Linked DNA regions of Homo sapiens: region 1 is linked to region 2. Evidence: promoter capture Hi-C in 16 types of primary human blood cells and fetal thymus (Javierre and others, 2016). All regions are on one chromosome and are shown on one strand. Each heading gives the region's core, a stretch centred on a gene start or on the middle of the fragment in contact. The rest is flanking DNA. Distances are from core to core; before and after follow the strand shown. Region 1 overlaps PUM2 (pumilio RNA binding family member 2). Region 2 holds the start of SDC1 (syndecan 1).

Region 1 (3,490 bases), core at 82-2,581, 100 kb after region 2:
TCTTTCCTGTTATTTAAAAAATAAGCAGAAACCCAGCTATATGTGCCCCAACAACCTAGAGAAGCTAATAGGTATGAGCCTATGCAGTGTGTCTGACTTAACACTACACTAATAAAGCAGAGTTCAATCTCCTATAGATTAGTTTTGCTCTTTTTAAGCCACATGACATAATGCAAATCAGTAGGTCTTTCGACAGAAACATGCTATCAGTGTAAAAACAGAGAGGGTAAGTTTATGAATAGGTGAATACAAATCTCTTATTTGTGGATGCCTTCTGATGATGGCTCAGTAAAGACATCATGATCTACAAAACACAGTAAATTTGAAATTAGTCCTACATGTAGATGTAACACTTTGTACATTAGAGATTTACAACACTTAAGACAACAGTAAGCAAAAACTATTTTTAAAGAAAGTCAAGACAAGGGTAATCTATTTTAAAAACCGTTTTGCATTAAAAAAAAAAAAAAGCATTTTTAGAAAACTTAAGAGCCAGAAACTCAAGGCTGCTTTTAATTTATTCCAATGAATGAATTCTGGGATATAACAAAAACAAAAAAACCTCACCTGTCAGGAAAGGAGGAGAAGACTGGTGAGAGAGAGAGGCAAAGAAGGAAATCCCAGAAGGTTCCTTGCTGCCTGTGAGATGAGGAAAGATAGAAAGGCTTGTGGGAGAGAGAACCCAGAGACAGAAATCTCAGTAGGTTTTTCTTAGCTATCTTTTTGAGGTGACAGTGTTAGTGCTTAAACTGTTAAGAAATAAACTAATGAGAGCATCTTAAAATATATTTTTACTGGATGAAGGTTACAGATACACTGACATGCTGCTATCCACCAGGTAGCAGGAAACCGTGGTCACTTTTACTCTCCATATCTGACATGTCCAATAAGGAAGTCTGGATTTAAGCTTTTTTCTTTTAACATACCATTCAACCCAGCTACTCTTTCCCCCAAATAACTAAACCCTTTCAACCACTGTTTCAGATCATGACATTTTTTTGATCTGCAAAGATAACTTTAAAATTATTAAATATTATTTAGAAAGAGTGAAAAAACACCAGTTTGAAAACATATATACAATATACATCTAAGAAGTGATAAAGGGAGTCTAAAATTAATGTAGGAGTATGACTCTCTTGTTCTTTTTTTTTTTTTTTGAGACGGAGTCTCGGTTTGTCCCCCAGGCCAGAGAGCAGTGGTGCAATCTCGGCTCACTGCAAGCTCCGCCTCCCGGGTTCACGCCATTCTCCTGCCTCAGCCTCCCGAGTAGCTGGGACTACAGGCGCCTGCCGCCACGCCCGGCTAATTTTTTGTATTTTTAGTAGAGACGGGGTTTCACCGTATTAGCCAGGATGGTCTCTATCTCCTGACCTTGTGATCCGCCCACCTTGGACTCCCAAAGTGCTGGGATTACAGGTGTGAGCCACTGTGCCCAGCCTGACTCTCTTGCTCTTAAAGAATTATCAGCAAGTTCAAGTTTGTCATAGACAAGAAGGTTGAAGCACTGTTCAACCCTGCTTTTAATATATGTTATTCTGCTTTTTAAAGAGCAAAGAAAAGTAGTGGCCAGGAAAGAACAAAAGCCCTTTTCATCTGCCTCTTATTTGCCAATAGCATAAATAATGCCTAACCAGATATTGCACTGCAGTGAAGCTACAGATTTTGTTTACAAAAAAAATTCAATTTCTTCAATTTTTCTTAGGGTTGAGAATTTTACCTTATGCACTGGTCTAACAAATTTATTTTGGCAATACTTAAGCTTAAGCACCTTAACTCACCCTTAAATCAGTCCTCTGAAAATGACATACTCTTTGGAAAACGCTGTTCTGAAGAAGGGGAGGGTTAGCTAGCTGCAGGGTGCCCTCTTGTGGCCCAAAGGAGAGACTTGGACTCTTTTCTGCATCTGAAGAGCACAGCATTGGATGGAGTGAGTCTCATGAAGGTCTCTATTCTACCAAGGTAAAATAATCTCCAGGAGCAAGCAGTTAATTACACATCTTAGGTCTGTTCACTGTTATCTTCTATTATCAAAGTCTACGTTAGTAGTACAGAACATGACAAAATACAGATGTCACCACAAGAGTTTCCATAATCAAAGTTCTCTAAGTATTCATTAGCTATATGAAAAATGAAGTATTTGATGCCTTAAAATATATAATGATGAGGTTAACTTTGGTGCTCCAAAGAAAATCATAGATTAACGAGAATGATAAAATCCATTAAGAAATGCGAAGTGCCTACTATGCTAGGCATTCAAAGCTAATAATTTACAGGGGAGACAAGTGTAAAACAAACTAACCAGCAATATAATAAAAGTCTGTATGAAGAACTAGAAGCCAGATGAAGGGCTTAATTCTATGGCAGATAGCAACTAGACAATAGATACATCCCAGTCGAGTCTTGTAGAAGATTAGAAGTTTGTTAAGTAAACAGTTTTGGGTGAACAAGAGATTTTTGGAAGGGAGAATAGTAAAACAAGTATGGCTAAAGCAAACACAGCATACATATATAAAACAGCAGAACAAGGCTAAAGAGTTTTTTTCAAGCAAAGCTAATTATAGTTCATTACCAAAATATAAGAAATTATCTCACCAAGTCAATCAAATCACCTAGACACAAATAATCACACTAAAAATTACTGCTAAAAGCTTTTTTTTTAAAGCTAAAAATCACAACAGAATTGTACAATCTGAAATTTAAACCCCTCCATATAGTTTGGAAGATATGACCACTATTTCCAGGAAGGGAGATGGTTAAAAAAAAAAAATAAGTTACAATGGCTCAAAATAAAGTGAGGTGTAAGTTCTTAGTATTTGCAAACATTTACCTCTCCCATTCCCCGAGATTCTAATGCAAGAGCTTGAAAATCATGATTCATTTCATCCACAGATCAAACCTGTTGAATAACAAAAACAAAAATTAGTACAAAGAAATGTTTAAACAGACTTCTTCAACTATTTTTATATTATATTGCTGCTATGACTAATATTAGCATGATCTGAGAAAGGGAAGCACTGATTTCTGTAGGGAAGACAGGTTTTCCCAGTTTATGACAGCAATCTACCTTAAAACCTGTAGAAAAACATTAGGTCAAGGGTTCTTGAATTATTCTGTGTGCCAACAACTATGTGAAGGCAATGAAAAACAATTAAAGCCCAGAAACTGGAGAACAGTCTATACTTTAAAGAAAGGAGTAGCACAGAGTAAGGTTTTTTGTTTGGTTGTTTGTTTTTTTTAAATGGCATTTCTGCCCGAGGGAAGGCCTAGATGTGGAAGTAGGGTCCTTAAATTCCTTTAAGAATCCAGCCTTAATGGCCTGAAGAAACCAAAGGACACAGTCTAGAGCAACCAGAGCTGCTGGAAAGTAAGAAAGGGAATCCCAGAGAGGACACGCCATGTCCCGTGTATAAATTACACTGGGATTTTCAGATGACGCCTGAACTGCACATATGTGAGACAGACTCCAAGGAGCTCAATTAAGGCTAAAAGA
Region 2 (3,124 bases), core at 482-2,981:
AGTGCCCACCCCGCCCCCGCCCCTTCCCTGCCCACGTGCCTCCCTTTGCCAGAGCTGGGGAAGTCGAACTGTCCAGATGTAGTGGCGAGACACCGCCACTTCCGGAAGGGGAAGCGCCCCTGGCTCCGCACCTCCCCTCTGCATCCCTGGGGATGGCCGAGCCGGCCCGCAGGAGGGACCCCGGGACGCCAGCACCGGGCGCGGGGGCTGGGGAGGCGAACTCGGGCGGCAGACTCGGGCACCGGGCGGCCCGCGCTGACACCTGGCTGCGGCCCAGGTCCCAGCCCCCGTCAAGGCCGGCGTTACGGGGCTGTTCCCAGGAAAGGGTTACAGGGGCCGAGAACAAAGCGCCCCCATTGGGGAAGGCGGGCTAGCGGCCGGTGGCCGGGGCGGGAGAGCCACTTTCTGGGGACCCTCAGGCTGCTCTTTGTCGGCCACGTCCCTCTTTAGTGGAGCGTCAGCCCCGCTGAAGGTGGATGCTGCATCCCACCCAAAGGCCTCTTACAGCCCCGAGCTCCACATCTGCCCCTCTTTTCTCCCAGCTGCACTGGGCGGGCCAAGGGACCCGCCTTCCCTCCGCGCGGCTTCAGCACAAAGCCGAGCCGGGGAGCGGGAGGCCATTCCCGGGTCCCCTCGCGTGGAAGGCGCCTGCGCCTCGGCCGTGCCCGGCACGGGAACGCGCCCTCCGGGGCCAGCTCAACTTCAGCAGCCCAGAAGTTGGGCTCCTCCGGGTCTCCAGCGTTCCGAGGCCAACTTCCCGGAACCTCCCGCTGCCGGGCCGGCTCAGCTCACCTCGAGCCGCCCACGGCAAGCCCGAGGGCCCTGCAGACGCTCGCCCGCGCCCCCCACGCAGCCCTGGCCCGGCTCCCCGGGCCAACGCGGCCGCCTCCCGCTCCCGCGCCGGCCGCGCTGCGCCCAAACTTGCCCTGGCGCAAGGGGCGGGGCGCCCGGGCTCGGCGGCGCTGGGGCGCAAGCCCGCGGGTCTGGTTTGAATTAGGGTCTGCAGGGGGGGCGTTGTGGCCGCGGTCACTGCATCCCCCCGGGTCACCGACGGGGGCCCGGCCGCCGCGGTGGCCGGGGCGAGGAGGGTGGGAACGGGCGACCCCGGGCGCCGCTGTGGGCTGGCGGGCTCCGACAGATGTGGAGACGTTTTACATAATTGAGCGCGGGGCCCCGGCCCCCCACCCTCCCCAGCGCGGGACCGGTGCGGCACCCACCGACAGCGGAGGAAATTGGGGCTGGAGCCCTGGTCTCGGGGCTCACCGTCCCGGGACCCGCTGGGCTAGCGCGGGAAGAAGGGAAGTCTTCGCTCCCCCTCCCCCTCCACGTGCACCCGCCGGCATCCGCGGGTGACCAGTCCCGGCTTCCCGCCGCCTCCCCGCCTGGCCGCCGGCCGCACTCACCGGCAGGGCCGGCTGCAGGCTCAGCGCCAGCGCGCACAGCCAGAGCCAGAGCGCCGCGCGCCTCATGCTGCCCGGACCGGCGGCGGGAGAGCGGCAGGCTGCGCGGGTCGCGGCTGCGGGCCGGCTTCGCGGGTTCCGCTGCTCGATGCTCTCTTGGGCGCCTGCCCAGCGCGCCGCTGTCCCAGGCGAGGGCTGCAGGGTCCGCCGGCTGGAGTCCGCTCTCTACTGCCGGATTCCTCTCCGCTCGGCTCGGATTCGGCCCGCACCTCTCCCGCCGAGCTCCGCCTTATAATAAACCCACAGGCCCTTCCTTAGCCGTTGCAAAAACTGGCCCCCCACCCCCAGCTCCGCCAGGTCTCCCGGCCAGCCCCAGTCCACACCCCCCAGGACCCCGCCCCCCAGCCACCCCTCCCGGCCCCTTCGGAACGCCCCACCCCCGGCCCGCTCCTAAGGTTCTTGCCTGCTTGGCTCCCGCTCCTCCGGTGGCCGAACGTCGCTTTCGGGAGCTGTGGTCCCCGCAAGCCGCGGTTCCCGGCCTTTCAGCTCGGCTGCTCCCTGGGTGGTGGGGCCGAGGCGCACCCCCTTCTGCCCGGGCCCGGAGTGCGGAGGCGCAGCCCGGGAGAGGGGCTGAAGGGGGGCAGGCAGTCCTCGGGCGCGAGTGTGCAGCGCCCTCTGGGCGTGGACGCGGAGCGCGCTCCAGGTGCGCAGGACTCCTAGCTCTCTTGGGGAACGCTTTCTGGGGCAGGGCGGGGACCCGGGGGCGATGGGGCCTTCAACCGACGGGCAAACACACACAGACACACCCCGGCTGTCCTCCAGCTGCGATGCGGCTCGCTGCGCCCCGCCGGCCCAGATTCTCCCGTACGCTCGCGTTCTTCCTGCACTCCACAAAGTGCTGGAGACTTGGGGCCTTAGTTTAAACAGCTGCACCCGCACGGAAGGGCTGCAAGAAAAAGGGGGACGGGGGCGGAGTTCGCAGCGTTTTTCTGTGGAAGACAACGCCCTCTCTCTTCATCTGAGCTAAAAGGAAAAATAAGTAACTTCTTTGTTCCCCGGTGACCTCGGGCACGCGGATCTGAGGAGCACCGTGCAGTTGCTGCTCCTTCGAGATCCCCTGCGAGGCCCTGGGCCTCAGTTCAAAAAGCTGTGGAAGGCCTGCGGGTGTAGGGGAAACGGCCGAGAGAGCAAAGGGGAAGAACCGGACGGGCCCTGCCCACATCTGGCAGGCAGGAGAGATGGTGCCAAACGACCTTCGCACCTGGGCCCTGAGACCAAAGATGGCGTCGTCCTCCCCTGTCTTCCCTAGGCGGAAGGCAAGAACTTGGGTCGGCCTGAGCTGGGGACCAAGAAAATATCGGGAAGTGTCCAGTGTTCCTCTTTAAAAGAATTAAACCTTCCTGGGCCACGCAGGGACTGACCGTGGGACCCTGGACTCTCCTCCACCTTCCACCGTGGAGCAGGCTCTGGAGCCGAGCAGCCTCCTGCGTCCCCATCTCATCCCCCCACTCCTCCTCACAGCACTAAAAGATGATGGCCTGCTTGTACCCCTGCTCCTGAGCACCTGTTTGACCTCAAAGAGCTCTCGCTTTTGGGGTGTCCGTCTCCCCAAGTCTGTCTAGGGGGCAGGAAGACCTTCATCAGGGTTCTTGGGGGCCGATGTGGGCTCGCTGAGTGCCTGAGTGATGGATGGTCTCACAGCACGGCACCACGGAGGTCCAGCC

The links. Contacts are between HindIII fragments. The CHiCAGO score rates a contact against its expected background, and 5 or more counts as called.
Region 1: a fragment that was not itself captured here is called in contact with the fragment with the promoter of SDC1 in region 2 in 1 of 17 cell types (endothelial precursors); the score reaches 5.4 in endothelial precursors.

What each region holds. Positions count from the first base shown.
Region 1 is chr2:20,324,483-20,327,972 of GRCh38, forward strand. It overlaps PUM2 (pumilio RNA binding family member 2), which reads right to left. Exons shown (of 21, transcript NM_015317.5): 2 at 2,828-2,896. The coding sequence starts at 2,878. Among named protein-coding and RNA genes, the nearest start is that of PUM2, 25 kb to the right of the region's middle. The HindIII fragment of the contact is 852 bases long and covers 906-1,757 here.
Region 2 is chr2:20,223,399-20,226,522 of GRCh38, forward strand. SDC1 (syndecan 1) reads right to left here and starts at 1,732. Exons shown (of 5, transcript NM_002997.5): 1 at 1,404-1,732. The coding sequence starts at 1,469. RefSeq lists silencers at 99-298, 709-1,168, 1,189-1,248, 1,289-1,708, 1,769-2,148 and enhancers at 1,700-2,379, 2,380-3,059. The HindIII fragment of the contact is 9,225 bases long and covers 1-3,124 here.